Regions from separate parts of the Homo sapiens genome. Here regions 2 and 3 are each linked to region 1. The links are contacts of gene promoters, found by promoter capture Hi-C in human tissues and cell types (Jung and others, 2019). All regions are on one chromosome and are shown on one strand. Each heading gives the region's core, a stretch centred on a gene start or on the middle of the fragment in contact. The rest is flanking DNA. Distances are from core to core; before and after follow the strand shown. Region 1 holds the start of SAMD5 (sterile alpha motif domain containing 5). Region 2 has its middle 410 kb from the start of SASH1. Region 3 has its middle 280 kb from the start of SAMD5.

Evidence for each region. The method cuts DNA at HindIII sites, captures the fragments that hold promoters and counts their contacts. A contact is called where the count stands out against the background at its distance.
Region 2: a fragment that was not itself captured here is called in contact with the fragment with the promoter of SAMD5 in region 1 in 1 of the 25 tissues and cell types used here (IMR-90 fibroblasts).
Region 3: a fragment that was not itself captured here is called in contact with the fragment with the promoter of SAMD5 in region 1 in 1 of the 25 tissues and cell types used here (mesendoderm cells).

What each region holds. Positions count from the first base shown.
Region 1 is chr6:147,507,232-147,510,435 of GRCh38, forward strand. SAMD5 (sterile alpha motif domain containing 5) reads left to right here and starts at 1,459. Exons shown (of 2, transcript NM_001030060.3): 1 at 1,459-2,156. The coding sequence starts at 1,698. The HindIII fragment of the contact is 17,257 bases long and covers 1-3,046 here.
Region 2 is chr6:147,927,439-147,930,642 of GRCh38, forward strand. It overlaps a transcript of SAMD5 not described here. Among named protein-coding and RNA genes, the nearest start is that of SASH1, 410 kb to the right of the region's middle. The HindIII fragment of the contact is 4,328 bases long and covers 1-3,204 here.
Region 3 is chr6:147,786,523-147,789,726 of GRCh38, forward strand. It overlaps a transcript of SAMD5 not described here. Among named protein-coding and RNA genes, the nearest start is that of SAMD5, 280 kb to the left of the region's middle. The HindIII fragment of the contact is 5,197 bases long and covers 1-3,204 here.

The sequences.
Region 1 (3,204 bases), core at 209-2,708:
CACCCAAATGCCAAACACACAGCAGGTCGAGAAACGACTCTGAAATCACTCCTTGTCCACTTCCCAAGGTCGGGCGAGAGACTGGCACGCCCCACGGGCAATCTTCAGAAAAAAAGGTCAGATCTGGTCCTTAAACAGCTCAGGTGCGAAGCTGAATCGCCCTTCTGCGGAAAGAGAGGAGACAGTACCTGCCCCCGCCGTCCCTCACTTCCCTTAGTCCCAAGAAGAGGTCAGACACCGGGAAATGGGGCCCAGGCGCTTGGTCTGTTCCACCTGCCACTCGAGTCCCCAGTCCCAAGAGGCTGCTCAGACATTGGCATGATGGGGAAACTCGATTGATTTTGTTACCTCCTAGAGGGAAAATGCCGTGGGCGGAGATGTCTGAGCGTCCCTTCCAACACGAGCTGGGTGGTGCTCTATTGATTTTCACGCGATCCCCGGGCGGGAGCGAGAGGATAGGCTCGGATTCCCGGGCTCCAGGACCGAACGCCTGGCAGTGTCCCCGGGGGCAAAGCCACCCCGGGAGCCCGTGCAGTATACTAGGTGGGGGGCCCGGAGAGAAAGCATAGCGCCGACGAGGGGGAGGGGCCGGGCAGAAAGGAGGGTGGGGTACCGGGTGGGACACACTGACCTAGGAGAAAGTACAACCCACCCCAAACTTTCGCAGACCCGGGAGCTTAGGAAGGGAGAGCCAGGAAGACAGCAGCCTCTCCTGCCGCCCAACGTGCCCAGCTGCAGCGAGGAGGGGCGGCGCGCAAGCCGGCTGGACCCGGGCGGTCCCCACGTTGCGCCCACCCTCCGGGCCAAAACGCCGCCGCTCGGGTCACTGAGTGGCCGCCCACGGAAGAAGTCAGATCGCCGGGCTCTGGGCTGCGTACGGGATCCGAGGAAGGGGGATTCAAACGCGGATCCGGAAGGAAGGGACACTGAACCCCGCAGCGTCCCCAGCGCCGTGGGGCGGCGGGACGTGTCCTTGGGCTGCCAGCGGGCGCGGAAGCTGGAGTCCGGCAGGGTCGGGAAGAAGTGAGCACAGACTTCCACGGGTAGAAGAGTCAGATTAAACAGAAATGTGAAAAGCAACCCAGGGCAGCCAACGGAGCCCAGCAGCGTAGAAGCCACCGGCTTCCCGCCGGGAGGACTACAGTGACTGACACTCGCGAAGACTAGGCGCTCCCAGCGGCCGCGGGTCTGCGTGGAGAAGTCGCCTCGCGGCGCGGAGCGCGCCAGCGGCGGCGGCGGCTGCCAGAGCGCGAGATGCGGCGCGCAGCCGCCGGACCGTCCCGGCTGGGAAAACTCGCGGGCGGCACTGCGCAGCGCTGACCCGGCGCAGGTCCGAGGGGTGTGCCCCGGCCCCTCCCGTCTCCGCCCCCTCCCGCGCCAGTCGCGCGCCCCTCCCCGCGGCGGCAGCGTCGGCGGCGCATCCAGGGGCGGCGCGGAGCCTTGCTCAGCCCAGCAGCCAGTGCCTGCGAGCTCCGCTGCTGCTTGGGGAATTCACTTTGCTGCTTGTTCGCTTCTCCCTTCCTCAGGCTTCTTCTGATGGTTTTCCGTCTCCTGCCCGAGCCTTTCCTTTAAAAGGAAAACTTTACTGCGATACCCTTTTCCCCTTGGAGGAGAGGATTAAAAGTTCCAAGAACTGGTGCCGCCCGTGCCATTTGGGCGCTGGGAAGGTGCTCGGCGGCGGGGTTCCCGGTCCCACCATGTGCACCAACATAGTTTACGAGTGGCTCAAAGCGCTGCAGCTTCCGCAGTACGCGGAGTCCTTCGTGGATAACGGCTACGATGACCTGGAGGTGTGCAAGCAGATCGGGGACCCGGACCTGGATGCCATCGGGGTGCTGGCGCCCGCGCACCGCCGCCGTATCCTGGAGGCCGTGCGCCGGCTGCGGGAGCAGGACGCCAACGCCGCCGGCCTCTACTTCACGCTTGAGCCGCAGCCGGCGCCCCCCGGGCCGCCCGCCGACGCCGTCCCCACCGGCCGCCGGGGGGAGCCGTGCGGCGGCCCGGCCCAGGGCACCCGCGGGGACTCTCGCGGCCACACGACCGCCCCCCGCAGCAGGGAGCTGGTGAGCTACCCCAAACTGAAGCTGAAGATCATGATCAGGGATAAGCTCGTCCGTGACGGCATCCACCTGAGCAAGCCCCCGTACTCCCGCAAGGTAAGGAGGTGCCGTCCGGGCGGCCCGGGGCGCGCGGCGGGAGGGGACACAGCCCAGCTGCCTGTGCCAAGGCTTTGCAACCCATTCCAGGTGACGACGGAGAGGCCAGGAGGCTTTGGGTATCTGGGACCCTTTTCTATGTTCTTTCTGTATTAGCCCATTATTTCGTCCTTCCTGGTGTCTCCAGTGGTTGGTAAGACAAGCCCCCGCATCCAGATGTTATCTCTAAACTAACGACCAAAACTCCGCATCCTCTCTGGTGCTCGCCTGTCAGGAATCGGACTCGCGCTGCTTCACCTGGTAGCCAGGGGGAATTCCTAACGCCCTCTATAGTAGTTTTGGGTTTGAAGAGTACCAGAAAAAATGGTTAATACCTACATTGCTTTCTACCTTCCTTTTTCTCTTTCTTTTCCTTTTTTGAGTCTTGAGAAACTCCTAAGGGAAATCGGTGAACTCTTTAAAGAGTGGAAAGTCAGGCCCTGCCTTTCTCAATTCCATAAAAAATCCCAGCGCTGCTGCAAATTTGAGAAGCTTACCATTCACATGAGCATTTTAAGAGGAAAAGTGAAGGAAGCACGTGTCAGTCCACTTGAGATGATTTCCTAAACTTGTGTATACTGGAGGCAATAAGGTGCTAAGGACATCAGAGATAATCGGGCCACAGGATGTGCTTCAGAGGTCTGGGCTGTCACGAGTTTGGTTTATTATTAAGCCAGATAAGATGAAGTAGGTACAACTGTGACTTCCAGGAAGTGTGAGTGGACCTGCATTTGGGAGAGGAGGACCGAGCACAAGTGAACTAAAGGGGAATCCTCTGCACCGGGGGCCTCAGGGAAGGAACCTGGAAGTTCCGAAATGTGGAGTGGGAGCTGGGTAATTAACAGAAAATGGTACTTCACACCAGAGCTCTGCTTCTAGCTGCGAGTCTGTTCCGTTTAGGTTTCTAGTTCAGGCGGCTGTCGGAGTAGAGGGTCCTGACTTGATAGAGAAGTAGACAGCACAGGTAACGCTCAGGATTGCAGAAGGTGCACAGGAATATGAGCACCTC
Region 2 (3,204 bases), core at 363-2,862, 420 kb after region 1:
TGTGTTCCTGATTTGGCTCTTGGCTTGGCTGTTGTTGGTGTGTAGAAACGTTCACGATTTTTGCACAGTGAGTTTGTATACTGAAACTCTGCTGAAACTGTTTATTAGCTGAGGGAGCTTTTGAGCTGAGACTATGGGGTTTTCTAGATATTGAATCACGTAGATATCTGCAGACAGGGATAGTTTGACATCCTTTCTTCCTACTTGGATGCCTGTATTTCTTTCTCTTTCCTGATTGCTCTGGCTAGGATTTCCAATGCAATGTAGAATGGGAGTGATGAGAGAGGGCACCCTGGTCTTGCGCCAGTTTGCAAGGGGAATGCTTACAGCTTTTCCTCATTCAGTATGATGTTGGTGGTAGGTCTGTCATAGATGACTGTTATTATTTTGAGGTATGTTCCTTCAATATCTAGTTTACTGAGAATTTTTAACATGAAGAAATGTTAGATTTTATCTAAAGCCTTTTCTGTATCTATTGACATAATTGTGTGGTTTTTGTCTTTAGTTCTCTTTATGTGATGAATCACATTTATTAATTTGTGCGTGTTAAACCAAACTTGCATCCCAGGGATGAAGCCTACTTGATCGTGGTGGATAAACTTTTTGATGTGCTGCTGGATTCAATTTACAAGTATTTTGTTGGGGAGTTTTGCATCAATGTTCATCAAGGATATTGGCCTGATGTGTTCTTTTTTTGGTTGTGTCTCTGCCAGGTTTTTGAATCAGGATGATGCTGGACTCATAGAATGAGTTGGGGAGGAGTCCTCAGTTTTGGGAAATAGTTTCAGTATTAATGGTACCAGCGCTTCTTTGTACATCTGGTAGAATTCCACTGTGAATCCATCTGATCTTGGGCTTTTTTGGTTTTTAGTTGGTAGGCTAGTTATTACTGATTCAATTACAGAGCTCATTATTGGTCTGTTCAGGGAATCAATTTCCTCCTGGTTCAGTCTTGGCAGGATGAATGTCTCCAGGGATTTATCCACCTCTTCTAGGTTTTCTAGTTTTTTCACATACAGGTGTTTGTAATACTTTTTGATAGTTATTTTTATTTCTGTGGCATCCGTGGTAACATCTTCTTTGTCATTTCTATTTGTATTTATTTGGTTCTTCTCTCTTTTCTTCTTTATTAGTCTAGCTGGTGGCCTATCTTACTATTTTTTTGAACAACCAACTCCTGGATTCATTGATATGTTGAATGGTTTTTCGTATCTCAGTTTCCTTCATTTCAGCTCTGATTTTGGTTATTTCTTGTTTTCTGCTAGCATTGGGCTTGGTTTCCTCTTGCTTCTCTAATTCTTTCAGTTGTGATGTTAGGTTGTTAATTTTAGATCTTTCTAACTTTTTGATGTGGGCATTTAGTGCTATGAATTTCCCTCTTAACACTGCCTTAGCTGTGTCCCAGAAATTCTGGTATGTTGTATCTTTGTTCTCATTGGTTTCAAATAACTGCTTGATTTTTGCCTTAATTTCATTATTTACCCAAAAGTCATTCAGGAGCATGTTGTTTAATTTCCATATAATTATGTGGTTTTGAGTGTTTTTTTTTTAGTCTTGACTTCTATTTTTATTGGTCCAAGAGTACATTTGTGGTGATTTTGGTTCTTTTGCATTTGCTGAGGATTGTTTTTCATGGTAGTCTTTTAACTAGAGCAGTCACTCAAATGCATTCAACATATGTGTCACAAAGAACCACACTGTCCTGGTTCCAAAATACTTACTTTGCCCAGTAAGTTCAGTTGTCTTCACTTTTTTAATGGGTTTAAATATTCCCAAACCTAAACTGGTGTCAAAGTCAGGTAGTCAAGATTTAAAATTAGAAGGTGCTGTAAGAGACATAGTTCAGCCAATCATTTCCATTGAGTGGACACAGGGAAATAACATCACTTCTCTAAGGCCACATAATGGTTGGCCAAGACAGCAGGAAACCAAATCTCCTGATGCACTATTTTATTTACACCAGTGGGTCTCAACCCTATCACACCTAACACCCCGTTTTAATATAAATATTTTCTAATTTTATCTTTCTCACCTTGAAATGTAATTCATAAATGATATAACTAACATGCATATATTTTTAAAAACCAAACTAAAACTTACCAAAATGAAGAAATAAAAGGAAAAATTATAATAAAATAATATGCATTGCAATCTGTAATGCTTAGACATGGCATCACTGGTGGGCATAATTATGTCAGATGGTCACACTTGTATGTAGAATGACATCTACAAATGCAGACTGATGCAGTTGGGTTATGTTGGCAACTTATATTCTGCTACTGGATTATCACTGTTGATGGGATTTTCTGAATTGGTGAACAAATCTTGGTAACATTGGGGGGGAAAGTACAGCTCTCCTTTGATACACACAGTACTTAAATTCCTAGAAAATTTAGTGTAGCTGAAAACTTAGCCAAAAGTAATTTATGTTTGAAATAGTTTGATTCTGGGTTAAGTTAGTTACAAACCAGTTTTCACCTACATAAATGTCTGGTACAGCATTTAAAATGTATGTGAGGAAAAATCCTTTATTGTATGGCACTCTCCTACACACTGTAGATTGTGCAGCATCCCTGGCATCTGTCCACTAAATGTCATAGACCTTTTGCTGCTTAGAAATGTCTCCTATCATATACCCTAGATTATCCCTCTTAAGTTCAGCCATCCACGAAACTCTAGTGCATGGACACAAGGCAGCCAAGTACTTTGCTATGCCTAGTAAGAGCAACCTTTGCTCCAGTTCCCAATAAGTTCCTCATTTCCATCTGATACCTCCTCTGCATGGCCTTTCCTATCTGTATTTCTATCAGCATTTTGGTTACAACACTTAACTAGTCTCTAAGAAGTTCCAAACTTTCCTTCATCTTTCTGTCTTCTTCTGAGTCCTGAAACTCTTCCAACCTTTGCCTGTTACCCAGTTCCAAAGCCACTTCCACATTTTCAAGTGTCTTTATAGCCACTCCTCATACCGATTTTCAGTCAGTCTCTCCAGAGAGACAGAACCAATAGGAAACATATTGGTTTCCTGACACACGTTTCTATAATATATAAAGAAAGGGAATTTATTAGGGAGAATTGGCTCAGAGGATGAAAAAGTACCAGGATAGTCCATCTATAAGCTGGAGAATGATAGAAGCATGGCTTTTAGAGAAGTTGGTAGCATGGCTCCTAGGGCAGGCAGTGGCATGACTTGGTCCAATTCTG
Region 3 (3,204 bases), core at 455-2,954, 280 kb after region 1:
AAGAGACCTTGAAGCAAACTTGTCATTTCTGAATTTCATCAGTCAAAGTATGTATTTGCCTTGGCTTTATACTTACTTAAAGGACAGGGGCTGATGTGGAAAATTTTCTCAGGTGCAGAGAACAGCAGACTATTAACATATGGTTGACATGGTTTCATTTGATTGTCCTAAATTACAGGAGTTGGGCTCATTTTGATGCTATCCATATTGCTGCCAGGTTTTCTAATTTATTTTAAAATCATTCACTCTTTCTTAAGCTTTTCCAAAGCAAGAGGTGTGGGTGAGGGAGTATTTCCTTGAGCATCAGCTGTACTGGAATATTCTAGTATGTTTGACTTGATAGTTTAACTACAAGGCATGACCAGCCACACTCTGCAGTCACATTGACTTCTTAGAATTTTGAGATTTGCAAGGATATTTGTCTTTCACCTTGGTTAAATACTTTGCATACAGAATTAAGTAATTTCATTAAAGTGCATTGGAGGAGAAAAATAATTTATGACAGGAAGTCTATAAGTATAAGGAGTTTAGCCAGAAGTTGTGATGTAATGTTAAACAAATAACCTTCAAAAATTATCCTGAAAAATCTATTTGTATGTCCATAAAAAGGACCTACAATTTGTGGGGTGGGCTCCAATCATAAAGAGTTTTGTTACAGAAATCTCTCAATGAAATGGCTAATTTTTTCTTTCCAATTGCCCATGGAAATGGAATTAAGCCTCGTTAACTTGAAATAGAATGGCTGTCCTCCATGATGGAGCAGGACAGTGCCTCTAGATAGCACAGATGCAAAGTCCTCAAAGTGTATTTCTCTCACCTGCGGTAGTCACGGAGAGTTTTAAAAAATTACTTTATAAATCTTACTTTTTGATAATTTCTGAAATTGAAATAATTTGAGCTGAAGCCTTTATTGCATTGAGTTTCCATGTAAGTCAAAGACCAGTAGACATGAATAAGAATTAAAGAGATCCACAAATAGAGCCCTAAAAAAAATCCACTTGCATTTCACATGGATGCCACAATTGGACTCAGTCCTGAATTGTCACTGACAGGTTTCTCAATCTTGTCAGTAATGATGGCATCCTGGTGGTGGCAGCAAACAGAGAGCAATTTTCTGCAGTGACTGTTGTGGACAATTTGTATTAAGATGAAATGTTATGAGACAAATATATGAAAGCCTCGTTCTTGCTTCTGTGTGATGCAAATTTTCTTTTCCCTGCTTGGTCAAGCATGGAGTACCGAAAAAAGATTTGGAAAAGATGCATTGGCACTGGATTGCAAAGTGTCATTGTATCCTTTTCCAACACAACATTCTTACAGTAAAGGCAGAATGAGTTACGTGTACTATCAGTAGCTCCGTAGCGCCAAGGCTCATTTGGCCATTTAAAGGTATCTTTTGGGCTTCTTTGTCAGCTGTCAAAGGAGAACATATTTGGCTTACATCAAGGGTTGCATAAGTATTCGGTGAATGGTTAATAAGGCTTTTCTTTTAATGTGAGACAGTAATTTGAAAAAGTCTGCTTGGATGTCAACCCAAACAGCTGAGCTTGCTATTTGATTAAGGAATTGGAGTTGCATGGGTGGGTTTATTGGAAATGGCAGACACTGAACTGACAGATGTCTGCCCTGAAGGTTTACAATTCTAAATCTTTTGTTTTCAAAATATTTAAGGTAAAATGTTTACATTGAAACAGAATCCTATGGATATTTCAGTATACATATTGCACGTATAATTAAGGCTACCTACATTATTTTGAAAGCTAGTGACAGCTACAGAGAGTTTATACCACTAATAAATGTAAACAGAAATTACTGAAGAGTTTGGCATATTACTTTCTTGAATAAAACATCATATACATGAACTTGAATATTATATTGAGAGAAAATTGAAAGTAGGCTACAAAATTAATAGTGAAGTATTTGCATTTTTTCCCATGAGGATTATAGATGTTTTTAAATGTGGCTATAAAAATACAAATATTTTTCTTTTTAAATATAGAAACACATCTGTGCTTGTACCTGCAAGAGTTGATGCTTTTGTGGATAAAAGTCTATACTTTCAAAATAAGATTTTCCGAGTCAATGTAGCCACTTCCAATAGTTGATATAGCGTAGTGGTTAAGAATATGAGTGAAGTTTTTAGAATAGCTCTAGAAAATATTAAGTACTATGTGAATATTAGCTCTTGGCTAATGGAGGTGTGATGATGCTTGCCAGTGAGTGGCAAAAGTCACTTCTTTTATAAATTTTGATTTGAGGCCTATTAAAAACCACCACCAGGACGGATGCGGTGGCTCATGCTTGTAATCCCAGCACTTTGGGAGGCCAAGGCGGGAGGATCACGAGGTCAGGAGATCGAGACCATCCTGGCTAACACGGTGAAACCCCATCTTTACTAAGAATACAAAAAAATTAGCCGGGCGTAGTGGCAGGTGCCTGTAGTCCCAGCTACTCGGGAGGCTGATGCAGGAGAATGGTGTGAACCTGGGAGGTGGAGCTTGCAGTGAGCCCAGATCACGCCACTGCACTCCAGCCTGGGTGACAGAGGGAGACTGTCTCAAAAAACAAACAAACAAACAAAAAAAAAAACACCACCATCCAGGCACACTGGGTCATGCCCGTAATCCCAGCACTTTGGGAGCCTGAGGCAGAAGGATTGCTTAAGCCCAAGGAGTTCAAACTTACTGTGAGCAAGGATGATGCCACTGCACTGAACTGCAGCCTGGACGATGGCATAAGACCCAGTCTCTAGAAAAACACACACACACACACACACACACACACACACACACACACAGTCAAAACCCAAAACACTACCGCACACACATACATACAGGTAAGTGCCATAACTTTATAACAGCACTTCCTATTCATGCTTCTGCCATCTCCCTGCCCAGAGATATATTTTTTTAATTTTTGAGAGTTATTTTTTAGGAGGATGATATGTAAAGTAAGCATTTTATTTGAAAATATTTTTAGATTTATTGAAAAGTTGCAAAAAGAGTGCTATTCTATATGGTCCACATGGGTTTCCCCTATTATTAATATCTTACATGTCTTGGCACATTTATTGTAATTAATGAAGAAATGCTGATACATTGTTATTATCATTACAGTCCATACTGTATCAGATTTCGTTGATTTTTTCTGTTCCAGGATCTCACCCAGGACGCCATATTGTGTTTAGTCATCAGGTCTACTCAG